Regions from separate parts of the Homo sapiens genome. Here region 1 is linked to region 2. The links are contacts of gene promoters, found by promoter capture Hi-C in blood cells and fetal thymus (Javierre and others, 2016). All regions are on one chromosome and are shown on one strand. The core of a region is centred on a gene start or on the middle of the fragment in contact, and the rest is flanking DNA. Distances in the headings are between cores, read along the strand shown. Region 1 overlaps TMCO4 (transmembrane and coiled-coil domains 4). Region 2 holds the start of RNF186 (ring finger protein 186).

Region 1 (5,828 bases), core at 450-2,949, 78 kb before region 2:
AGGAAGCTGAGGCCCAGAGAGGTTAAGTGACTAGCCCAAGGTCCGACAGCCAGTCAGTGGCAAAGCTAGGAGCCAAATCCAGGTCTGCCTAATATCAAAACCCAAAATCTCAGCTATGGGCCATGAGGATCCAGGGGTGGGAGCAGCGAGCAGGAAAGATGCTGGAAGGAAGCTGCTTTGGGAACCATCCCCCAAAAGGCTGTAGTGCAGGAACTTCCCAGTGTCACACAAACCAGCCCTGTCACCAAGAAGCCACCTGCCTCCCTCTTCCCTCTTTCCAGTTTCCAGCCTCACATTCTGGGGACAGCTGAGAGTCGACCTCACTTCCGGTTACCACAGCCAAATGGTTCATGGTAATTAATTCAATTTGTTTGGCAGGGGAATTAAAGTCTTGCCTGTACTAACGATCTTAAGTTAACATAGCATTTATGCTAACTGGAGGCAGAGACATGCCCTCTGAATGAAGAATTGGTTCTATTAATAAGACTACATCTCTCTAGGTAACGAGCCTGGCAGATAGACGGTTTGCTGCCAGAGAGGGAAAGATGACAAGGAAAGAAGCAAAATGATGACAGCAGAGAGGATGGCAACTTTTCAAAGGCTTCCCTGGGAAAAGTAGATTTGGAGAGCAGGGAGGAGTCTGCATTGGCCGACAACCAGCACCGATGGCCAGATACACGAATGAGGTCAACTTGGACCTCCTGGGTGTTCCAGCTCTGACTACAACTGCATGACTAAGCCCAGGCAGGAGAGGCAAATGGTCTTGCCAACTCATAGAATCGTGAGAAATGATCAGTTATTGCTGCTTTTGGCCACCGTGTTTGGAGAGGCCGTTTTGCAGCAACAAATAACAATCATGGTGGAGGGCAAAGGAGAAGTAAAGGCACGTCGTACATGGTGGCAGGCAAGAGAACGCGTGCAGGGGAACTGCCCTTTATAAAACCATCAGCTCTCATGAGACTTATTCACTATCATGGAAACAGCATGGGGAAAACCCACCCCCCTGATTCAATTACCTCCCACCGGGTCCCTCCCATGACCCATGTGGATTGTGGGAGCCACAATTCAAGATGAGATTTGGGTGAGGACACAACCAAATCATATTAAGCTCCAATCCTTCTCTCCCATCCACCCTCCACTCCCAGGTTCAACAATTTCTCTCTGAGTTCCTCCTCTTGCCTTCAGAGTCCTGCCGCTGCTACCTTCCACTGAGAGGAGGTGAGCCCATGTTCCAGGAGCAGTGAACCACTCCAAGTGCCCCAGGCTCGGCAACTCACTCTCCCAACCAGCCCCTCCACAGGCAGCCCCTGCTGACAGATCTGTCCAAAACCAGCATTCTGCCCTGGAGACCTCACCTACCCAAGGCCAGGAGCAGCAGCCCTCAAGCTTTTCACTGCCTTGCACAGAAAGGATGACACTGGAGGCATGACACACTCCCAAAGGTGTCTGTGTGTGGTTGAATGGTGAACCCCCAGAAGATATGTCCACCCAGAACCTGTGAATGCGACCTCATCTGGTAAAAGGGTCGTTGCAGATATAATTAAGTAAATGATCTTGACATGGGATCACCCTGGATGAGAGTGGGCCCTAAATCCAATGACTCTGTCTGTCCTTATGAGAGAAGACAACAGGCAGAGACTGGAATGACATGTCTACAAGCCAAGGAATGCTAAGGACTGCTGGCAGCCACAAGAAGTTGGAAGAGACAGGAAAAATCCTCCACTAGAGCCTTCAGAGGGAAAGTGCACCTGCCAACACCTTAATTTTGAATTTCTTGTCCCCTTCATTCCCACTTGGGAAAGTGCATTAGAACACAAAAGCCAGTGTCATTATTACAGGATGGTCCATCTTGCATCTACTCTAATGTATGTATATAAAATCATTTCCCCAAGGTTGATGACGATTTTTCTTGATTTTTAAACTATTTTTAACTTTTAACTATTATTTCTAAGAACTGGGAACACATTTTGCAAGGCTCATGGCCCCTGGCCCAGAACATCTGTCCCTGGGAACAAGCTTGTGAAGGGTTTCCGTCTGTGACAATAATCCATGCTCACCTTTCTCTTGAGCCATCTCCTGCAGACAGAAGTAGATGACTCTGGCTCCCAGGCTGAAGCCAATCAAGGTGACAGGTCGTCGCCCCTGAAGGGAAAAAGGACACAGGTGTCTGGAAGGAATACTGCCAGTTCTAGCAAAACATCAGGCCTGAGGAGGGCAGCCTTTGCACATTCCTTACCACCTGATTCTCATCTAATGAATCATGCATGTGCTGTTCCGGTCCCTGAGCGCTGATGTCTTAATCAGCAGAGTCAGGACCCTCATTTATGCAGGAGTGCACCTGCTGCTGGAATTGGCTTCCTCCAAGGCCAACAGGCAGCCCCCGGCTGGGTTAATTCCCTTTCATCTCAAATCATTATCCAGCCACCGTCTCATCTTCCCCAGGAGACAGGGCTAGTCAATTACAAGAGCAACTTCCCTTGCACTGATCTGCCTTGCGGCAAATGGCTGCAGTGCTGCGGGACCCCTTCCGGAGCTGGGGAGATTAGACAGAAGGCACCCCCAGGTGTGAGGGGTAAAAAGGCAAGAGTGACAAGGGAGGGACAACAGTTCAGTTTCTAGATAGGAAGGTGGGGCACAAAATATTGGCTCTAAGTGATAAGATAAGGTAGTAAGTCAGATGGAAAGAGGAATTTTCTGACTCAAGGACTTGTAAGAAAAGGTAACTGATCATGTCAAGACTCTAAAGAAAATGAAAGTTATCTGGGGGTGTTTGGGTACAAGCTTACATGGAAGGAGAGGAGGGGAGTGGATGAGCTCTGGAGGCCCAGCCTGGTTTTACCAGTCTATTCCTTTTCCTTGGTTTTGTGCCAATACACGTATTCCACATCCCCACACCACTCCACTTACCACAGTAGAAAATCCTCTGTTAAACAGTATTCGAATCCTGCAGGAGCTTTGTGCCAACCCTGCTGGCCACTGCCCAATATCATTCTCCCCTTTGTCCTTTACTCCTGAGTTTGACTGGGCACACGGCCACCCAGCCAAAGACGAAGTTTCCCTGACTCCTCCGTAGCTTGAGGTGGCCACAGGGCTGAGACTTAGCACAGGGCAAGGAAAGGGGATCCTCCCTAAGGCATGCATTTTTGCCTTTTGACCTCCAGAGCTGTAAAATAGTACATTTGTTTTCAGCTGGTAAATTTGTGGTAATTTGTAACAGTGGCAGCAGGAAACTAACACATCATCTTGCTCCAGATATTGACACCCAGACTCTTACTTGGGAGAGAACAAAATTCTATCTTGTCTAAGCCAATGCCACTTTGGCCTTTGCCTTAGAGTCAAGCCTGCCGAAGGATTTTCTGTTTCTTTTGACAAAGACGCAGGGATTGAAGGGGGTGGCCAGTTGCTCAAGCAGTTTAGCTGCATGGCAGAAACTGCTAGTTGTCATCCCTCAATATCCATCCTCCCTTTTTTCCATAGTAATTGAATTTCAGCTGGGTTCATCATCACTCAGAATAAATACTATATTTCCCAGCTTCTGTGGCAGCTAGGAATGGTCATGTGACTAGGCTCTGGCCAGTGAGACACCAACTGAAATGTTGTAAGGCTTTGCTGTTTCTTCTTCAGTTCTTCCTTTCTCCTGCTCCCTGGAGCTCGGATGATGCCATCTTTGATACAAGGTCAAGACCCCAGAGCAACAAGGTAGCAGGAACCTGGGCCTCTGCACCATGGAAGGCTATTAGACAACCTTGCTAGGCTTCTCCAGGAAAATAAATTTCTACCTTGTTTAAGCCACTGTTATTTTGGGTTTTCTCCCACTTCCAGCCAAAACAAATCCTGACAATGCAGTCATTTCTGGTACTGCTTCTCAAGCTTTTGTCTCCATTCACTCAAGTTTTATTCTGAAGGGGATGGTTTTATTCTCTTGGTAAGTACATCTTTACTAGATTCAAATTTTAAAAGTATTATGATGATGTCTCTTCCTAACCATTTTACATGGTATTTAGACCACCAAAGATGACCTCACAAAGTAGCTTTATACTTCTGGGAAGGAACACCAGGCCACCAGCATGTGGGAATTCCATTGGTGGCCAGCTGAAGCACCTGGTCTCATTCACTTTACTGGCTTCACTGCAAACTGCGTCAGAGGTTTCCACTGAAATATCACCCAAATGAGCCCAGTGATTATCCTAAACACTTGAATGAAGAGCTGATACATAGGAGCCACTTTTGCTTCTGCCAGAGTCCCCCAGACTTGTTCCTACCTGCAGATGCCCTGTTATTCAGTCCTTACCTAAATACCTGCTAGAGCTGCAGAGTCTATAATTTTTACTGTTCATCCTAGGACACATTCATTACTTGAACTGGAGAGGCAGCAAGGACTGCCCACACCCCCAAAACCATTGAGTTATCTCCAAGTAGCCTTGCCTCTAAGGCTGATATCTGTGAACAAGTCAGCACCTGACTTCCCCTCTTGCTCAATGCCACGCCCACACAGCCATTCCCAGGTACCTGCTGCCGGGAGAGCAGGATGTGGGCCAGGTGCTTGCCAACCTCTGCTGATCGATGGAGACACACCCCCCAGGGGTTGTCGATGACATTGGCGACACTGAGGAGTGAGGCTGGCCAGGTCAGGGCAGCCACAATGCCTGGGGAGGTGAGATAGTGATGAAGGGAATGGCCCCTGTCCTAGGGTCCTACTAGGGAAGTGACTGGCTAACAGATGCTCAAATAAATGCATGCAGTCTCCAACTTGGACCTGCAAGTTTGCCAATCAAACTGCTAAAGAACAAAGAAATCCGAAACTCATGAATTTCTGATATATGGACTCAATCCCTTCTGCTCAAGCCCTTGTCACGTGTGAGATGGCCCCAATTCGTCTCCACACCCTGTACCCTCCCACTTTGCTTCATAACTCTGCAGTGGGGACCCCTGCCCTGCCCATCCCCTCTAGACTCAGCCATGTGACTTGCTTTTGCCAAAGACATTAATAGATGTGAGGCTTGAAATGGATTTGTGCACCAGGGCTAGCCTCTTGCGCTTCTATCATTGACATGGGCTTGCCTGCTCATCCCAGGAGGATGAGAGACAAATGGAGCAGAGCTGAGTTGCCCCAGACAAGGCTAGCATTGATCGGTGGATGGTTGGCTGACCCACAGGCCTAGCTAAGATCCACCAACTCCAGCCTCCTGAGCTATTACAGTAAACATCCCATGGAGTTTTGGGGTGGCTTGTCCCACAGCAATAGCTAACGGACTGATCATGTGATTGGCTGTTTACCTGTCTTCTCTCCATAGGGATCATAAACTTCCCCCAGACAGGAATGCGGCCTTAACCTCTCTGTGTTCCTAGGGTCCAGCACGGTGCCTGCCCTGGGGGCTTTGGGCATGCAAAACTATGGTACCACTGTGTTGGGATGAAGGCAGTGGGCATGCTGTTGTTGGGGGGCAGGTGGGGGCACTTACCAGACAACACTGTGTACTTTAGGGCCTCCTGGGCCACCATGTTGGCGAGACCACTGAGGATGGTCTCCAGGGCATTGCCGAGCTCCATCAGGTACTTGGCTTCCCAGGCCAGGCAGTACTGCTCACGGCTGTGGGCCAGGGCAGCCCACGGGGCACTGAAGGTGCCTGGGGAGATCACAGGTAGGTGAAGTCTCTCTTGTCTATGGCAGAGGATGCCCCACCCCAGTACCCCAGACAAGGAGCACCAGGACCACTCACCCTTGTGTGGAAGACAAGAGGCCCACCCCCTGCCAATGAGTGGCAGCTGTCAGCAGAGCTAGCGGAGCTCTGTGCAGCCCAGTGAGTCAGCAGGCTGGGCTGGAATCC
Region 2 (5,328 bases), core at 1-2,500:
TTGCAAAAAGAATGGAATTCCAGTTCTATTCTACAATGGCATCAATACTGCAATACTTTCATCAAGTTATATAAAGAAAAACCAAGAACATTGGAATAAGAGGAACAGGAGCTTCCCCCATCTTGTCATGTTCAAGTAGTTTGTGTCTGCTCCCCTAGCCACCAACAGTTTTAGCTATGCTATCCCAAGGGCAAGTGCAAGCCTGTCATCCAAGCGTGTAATTCTTGACCCAGGCTGGCCATCTCGGTTGTGGCTTGCAAGTCCCGCTGGCATGTGATTTCCCAAAGGAGCCAGTCTTAGTCCGTAACCCCTTACCCTGTTCATTGTGGAAGTCCGGGGGCCCAAGGGCAGAAAGGGCTGCAGGGATAGCCTCATCAGAGGGCACTCAGGCAATGGAAGAGATGTGGCTGTGTTTCTGCTCTCTGCAGAAGAGAGTCCTGGAGGAGGGCCAGCAGCTGCCCCGGGTGCTGGGGAGACAGCAGAAGAGGGTGGACATCAGCAGGGCCAGGGCGATGATGAAGGTGAGCACCCATCGTAAGACACCCGGGTAGATGAAGGGCCCGATGAGGATAATGAGCAAGGCCAGCAGGAGTAGGTGCGCGGCCAGGCGCCGGGCTGCCACGTGGTTTGCACTTACTTCATCCTGTCCATCCTCTCCCACCAAGCTGGGGTGTCCTGCTGCCAAGTCAGCAGGATCCACCAGCCCCTGAGGACAGAGCGATACCTCTGTGCATGGCTGGGCCAGCTGCCCCACCACCGCCTCATGGTCGCGCAGGCTGCAGATGAGGCCCCCGGGGACGGCGGTGACCTTGCGGCACAGCGGGCAGGTGATGGACCAGGTGTTGTCCTGCACGCACAGCAGGAGCTTCAGGCAGATGGCGCAGAAGGCATGCTGGCAGGCCAGCAGCTTGGGCAACCGGGGACAGCTGTAGGGCTCCCGGCACACCAGACACTCCAGGTCACATTCTGTGGAGCCAGAATGACCCCCAGCAGGGGCCACAGCGGTGGTGGTTGTGGTGGCTCCTGCGGAGATGGGCTGGGACTGTTGCAGGGTCTTGGTGCAGGCCATTCTGGGCACAGGGACCGGTGGGACACTGTCGCTCAGCACCTGGGCATTGGCAGAGAGTGTCAGCTGGCGCCGCTGGGACTTGGATGGAATCTGCCCCTCCTTTTCACTCTGGCCAGGTGCCTGTTGACAACAGCTGTCTGACACTCCTCTCTCCCAGAGCTGCCCAGCTTGTTTCTTGGCTTACGTCGTCCCTTCAGTTATTATTATTTATTTTCTCAAAACCTAGGGTTAATCAGTAACTTGCGGGTCTGGAGACTTTGAATTGCCTGATAGGAGGGCAAAGTGGGCAAGGGTCTAGTGAATCAGGACTTTCCTGTTGGGGCCAGGTACCTGGTGGGTGCCCACAGAACTGTGGCTCAAGCTTTAGGAGGCAGCAGAATCCAACTCTCTCACCCCCACTTCCCAGGTCCCTGAACCTTTTATTAATTTTTTTTATTTAACTTTTTTTTTTTTTTTTGAGACGGAGTCTCGTTCTCTCAGGTTGGAGTGCAGTGGCCCGATCTTGGCTCACTGGCATCTACAAATCTGCACAATAAACAGACAGCCCTATGAGTCGGACATAGGTGGATTGGTGGACACTGCTTTCTCAGACACAAACTTTTGGATGTCAGGATGAGTGGAAAAAAGTTTGTTTGCACTTGGAGCACATTTACAGGCAGGTGGCCTTGGAAAGAGGAGGGGAGAGGTAAGAAAAGTGAGTGGAAGGAGGACAAAGCCCAACCCAACGCAGAAAAACAAAACCACATACAGCGCACAGGTGTTTGGCACCTGCTACTGTATTCATTTCCTTAGAGCCACAGCTGTTGTATTCACAGTTACGGGTGTATGAACTTCCCATCGGTGCCCTGCTGCACACTTCACATGCCTAATCACAGGTGTCCTGTTTTGTGCTAGGCATGCTGCGTATCCAGTAGTACTAAGAACAGCTGCCATTTATTTGGGCCTACTCTAAGCCAAGCCCTGTGCCCGGGGTCCCCAGCCCCCATTTCCCGGAACCCTGATACAGCCTTGTAGGGAAGGCTGGGAAACAAGGGCAGGGTGTGGTCAGGGTAGGCTGCTGGCTGCCTGCCAAGGGGCCTTCCATGGAGCAGGACCTTGTGGAATCTACCAGCGTCCAAGGTCTGGTTGAATCAATTTCATTGGTTCATTTGGACACAACTGGCCCCAGCCGGGTGGCGTAGGCTAAGAGGACTCATGTGAGACAGGCAGATATTAGTAACACAGCAGTTAGGAAAACGTGATTTCCTTACTTTGCCCTCAAGGGCAAATGGCGGGGTGGCATGTGCACTCCCTCAAACAAATGTTTCATTCAGGCCACTCTGAACTCAGAAGCCCGTGTGAAGGATCCTTTGGTGCTCATGTCACCTGCCAAGGGCCACACAGAGTCCTGTGCCTCTGATTCAGCTCTTTCCCTTACCCCAGTAGCTGGCACTGCAGGCCACCCTCTGTGTCCTGGAGTCACCAGCCCCAAAGGGGCTCCCTCCCTTGTGGGATCGGTAACTCCCACCTCCCCACTCCCCCTGGGCCCTCTATCTCTGAAATCCAATACTCTCACCATCCCATCCCATTTCTTCTCAACCTGTAGCTAGACCATCAGTTACCTCTGTGAAAGGAAAATAAATCGTGGGGCCCCAAAATCACTAAGCCACAAGGGAAAGTCAAGCTGGAAACTGCTTAGGGCCAGCCTGCCTCCCATTCTATTCAAAGTCACCTCTCTGCTCACTGAGACAAATGCATATCTGATTGCCTCCTTTGGAGATGCTAATCAGAAACTCAAAAGAATGTAACCATTCTTATCCACCTGTGACCTGGAAGCCCCTTCCCCACTTCAGGTCTTCCTGCCTTTGCTTCAAGTTGCTCCACCTTTTCAGATGGAACCAATGTTCATTTTACATATGTTGATTGATGTCTCATGTCCCTCTAAAACGTATAAAACCAAGCTGTGCTCTGTCCACCTTGGGCACATGTCATCAGGACCTCCTGAGGCTGTGTCACGGACATGTGTCCTCAACCTTGGCAAAATAAACTTTCTAAATTAACTGAGACCTGTCTCAGATACTAAGGTATAGATACACATCTATATCACGTTTTCCCCCAGATCAAGCTGAAGGTGGCCTTGGATCTAGGCATGTTTTTTCCCCCATGCCTAGCATTCTTTCCCCTTTTTTGGGTAACAGTTCTCTGTTTTCACTTTGGGCAACCACTGCTTCCCACCGTCATTCTGTGCTCACGGAGAGGGTGATGTCTGGCTCCAGCTCTCTGGAAGTGGGGCCCTGATACAATTCAGGACAGGCCAGTTAGCATGCTCTGCTCTGCTAGCTGCAGCCATTGGTTTGAGCGTAGGCATATAATCGAAGCCAAGCCAATGAGATTCAATTCTGAGACTTCTGTTGGAGCCCTTGAGAAGTTTCTCTTTGTGCTGGGTTTCTAAGTTAGAGGATGGAACCCTGGGGCTGCCAGGACCACAGTGTGCAGAGAACCTGCTCAAGAGTAAGGTCAGCACAAAAGAAAAATGAGAAAAGAATCAGACAAAGGCCTGATGATGTTATTTGAACACCTGAAGCAGGACACCTAGCATTGGATTTTTTCAAGGATATTAACCTATAAAATCTACCCTGATTTTTATTCTTAAGTCAGTTCAAATTGAACTTCTGTCCCTTGCAAGTGAAAGACCTCTATGTAACACAGCAATGGATGAAGAAAAGAAGCCTTTACTTGCTCTCTGACAAAGGGTCAGGCATTGATGAGACAACCAGACTTTGTACACGGACAAGAGTGACCGAATGCCTGTGTGTTACCATGCTAGAAGAGATTCTGTGTTTTCTCTGCTTGGACTTGCATTGCATAATGTTATTTTCTGTTTGTGAGACCCTAGGATGGATTAGGGATGAGAGGAGAAAAATGTGTTGAGCCACATTCATTTATAATAAGAATAGAAAATCAGGTGGGCCACACAGTGATGTTGGCTTGGCCAGTGTCCCTCTCACTTTTTTTTGAGATAGAGTCTCGCTCTGTCTTGCCCAGGCTGGAGTGCGACCTCTGCCTCCCGGGCTCAAGCGATTCTCTTGTCTCAGCCTCCTGAGTAGCTGGGACTACAGGCGTGTGCCACCACACCCGGCTAATATTGTATTTTTAGTGGAGATGGGCTTTCACTATGTTGGCCAGATCGGTCTCAAACTCCTGACCTCAGGTGATTCACCTGCCTCAGCCTCCCAAAATGCTAGGATTACAGGCATGAGCCGCTTCACCCAGCCGGCCAGTGCCTCTCTCTCTAGCCAGCTTAATGGGAAATCAAATTGTCAGAAGGTAGCTGAGTGAGGTTGAAATCAGACCAAGGGAAGTTATTTGGGGTTAGAGCCTAAAAAATAACCTTTTAACATCATTGGGCAACCACCGTTAAGAAAACATATTGGCTGGAACAACCCAAGTATTACAGAAATAAAGTAGAATGTGAAAGTTCATCTTACTGCAACCCCTGAGAAATGACCACTGTTAACAGAGCATTCCTTCCTGTTGTCCTCCTCCTACCATCTTGGCTTAGGAACAACTTTGTTTCTCAAAAGTGCCTTGCCTTAACTATCACCAGCACTGACTATAGCTGGAAATCTGGCTCCTGTCACTTTACCAGCTATGTGACCTTGGGCAAGAATTTTAACTTCACTGCAGTTCAGTTTTAAAATTTGATAAAATGGAGGCCGGGCACAGTGACTCAAGCCTGTAATCCCAGCACTTTGGGAAGCAGAGGTGGGTGGATCGCTTGAGCTCAGGAGTTCGAGACCGGCCTGGGCAATGAGGTGCAACCCTATCTCTACTAAAAATACAAAAAATAGCTGGGCCTGGTGGTGCATACCTGTAGCCCCAGCTACTTGGGAGGCCGAGGCAGGAGGATAGCTTGAGCCTGGGAGGTCGCAGTTGCGTGAGCCAAGATCGTGCCACTGCACTCCAGCCTGGGTGACAGAGTGACACTCTGTATTTAAAAAAAAGTAAATAAAATAAAATAAAACAAAATGGAGACGTTAACACTTGAGGAAATTATGGATTATTTAAGCCCTCCACCCCTGACTACAACCTGCTCACAGGAGGCTTAGTAATTTATGTACTTTGGGTTGTAACTGACCTAGGTGAAATTGATCTCTTCCAGGGACATGAGATAAGACACTTTGGTGACTGATTCGGCCAATGCTTCTTGAAGAGGAGTGAATATGGGCAGAGTCTGAGGTGGAGCCTGAAGCAGATCTACCCCAGGGGAATTCAAAAGT

What was found. The method cuts DNA at HindIII sites, captures the fragments that hold promoters and counts their contacts. A CHiCAGO score of 5 or more calls a contact.
Region 1: a contact is called between a fragment that was not itself captured here and the fragment with the promoter of RNF186 in region 2, in 1 of 17 cell types (endothelial precursors). The highest score is 5.5, in endothelial precursors.

What each region holds. Positions count from the first base shown.
Region 1 is chr1:19,735,315-19,741,142 of GRCh38, forward strand. TMCO4 (transmembrane and coiled-coil domains 4) reads right to left here. Exons shown (of 16, transcript NM_181719.7): 11 at 5,463-5,627; 12 at 4,510-4,646; 13 at 2,058-2,142. Among named protein-coding and RNA genes, the nearest start is that of TMCO4, 62 kb to the right of the region's middle. RefSeq lists enhancers at 5,102-5,603, 5,604-5,828. The HindIII fragment of the contact is 630 bases long and covers 1,385-2,014 here.
Region 2 is chr1:19,814,033-19,819,360 of GRCh38, forward strand. It overlaps RNF186 (ring finger protein 186), which reads right to left and starts at 1,251. Exons shown (of 1, transcript NM_019062.2): 1 at 1-1,251. The coding sequence starts at 1,069. The coding sequence ends at 386. RNF186-AS1 (RNF186 antisense RNA 1) reads left to right here and starts at 377. Exons shown (of 2, transcript NR_186008.1): 1 at 377-521; 2 at 5,211-5,328. RefSeq lists an enhancer at 2,712-3,243. The HindIII fragment of the contact is 1,953 bases long and covers 1-1,428 here.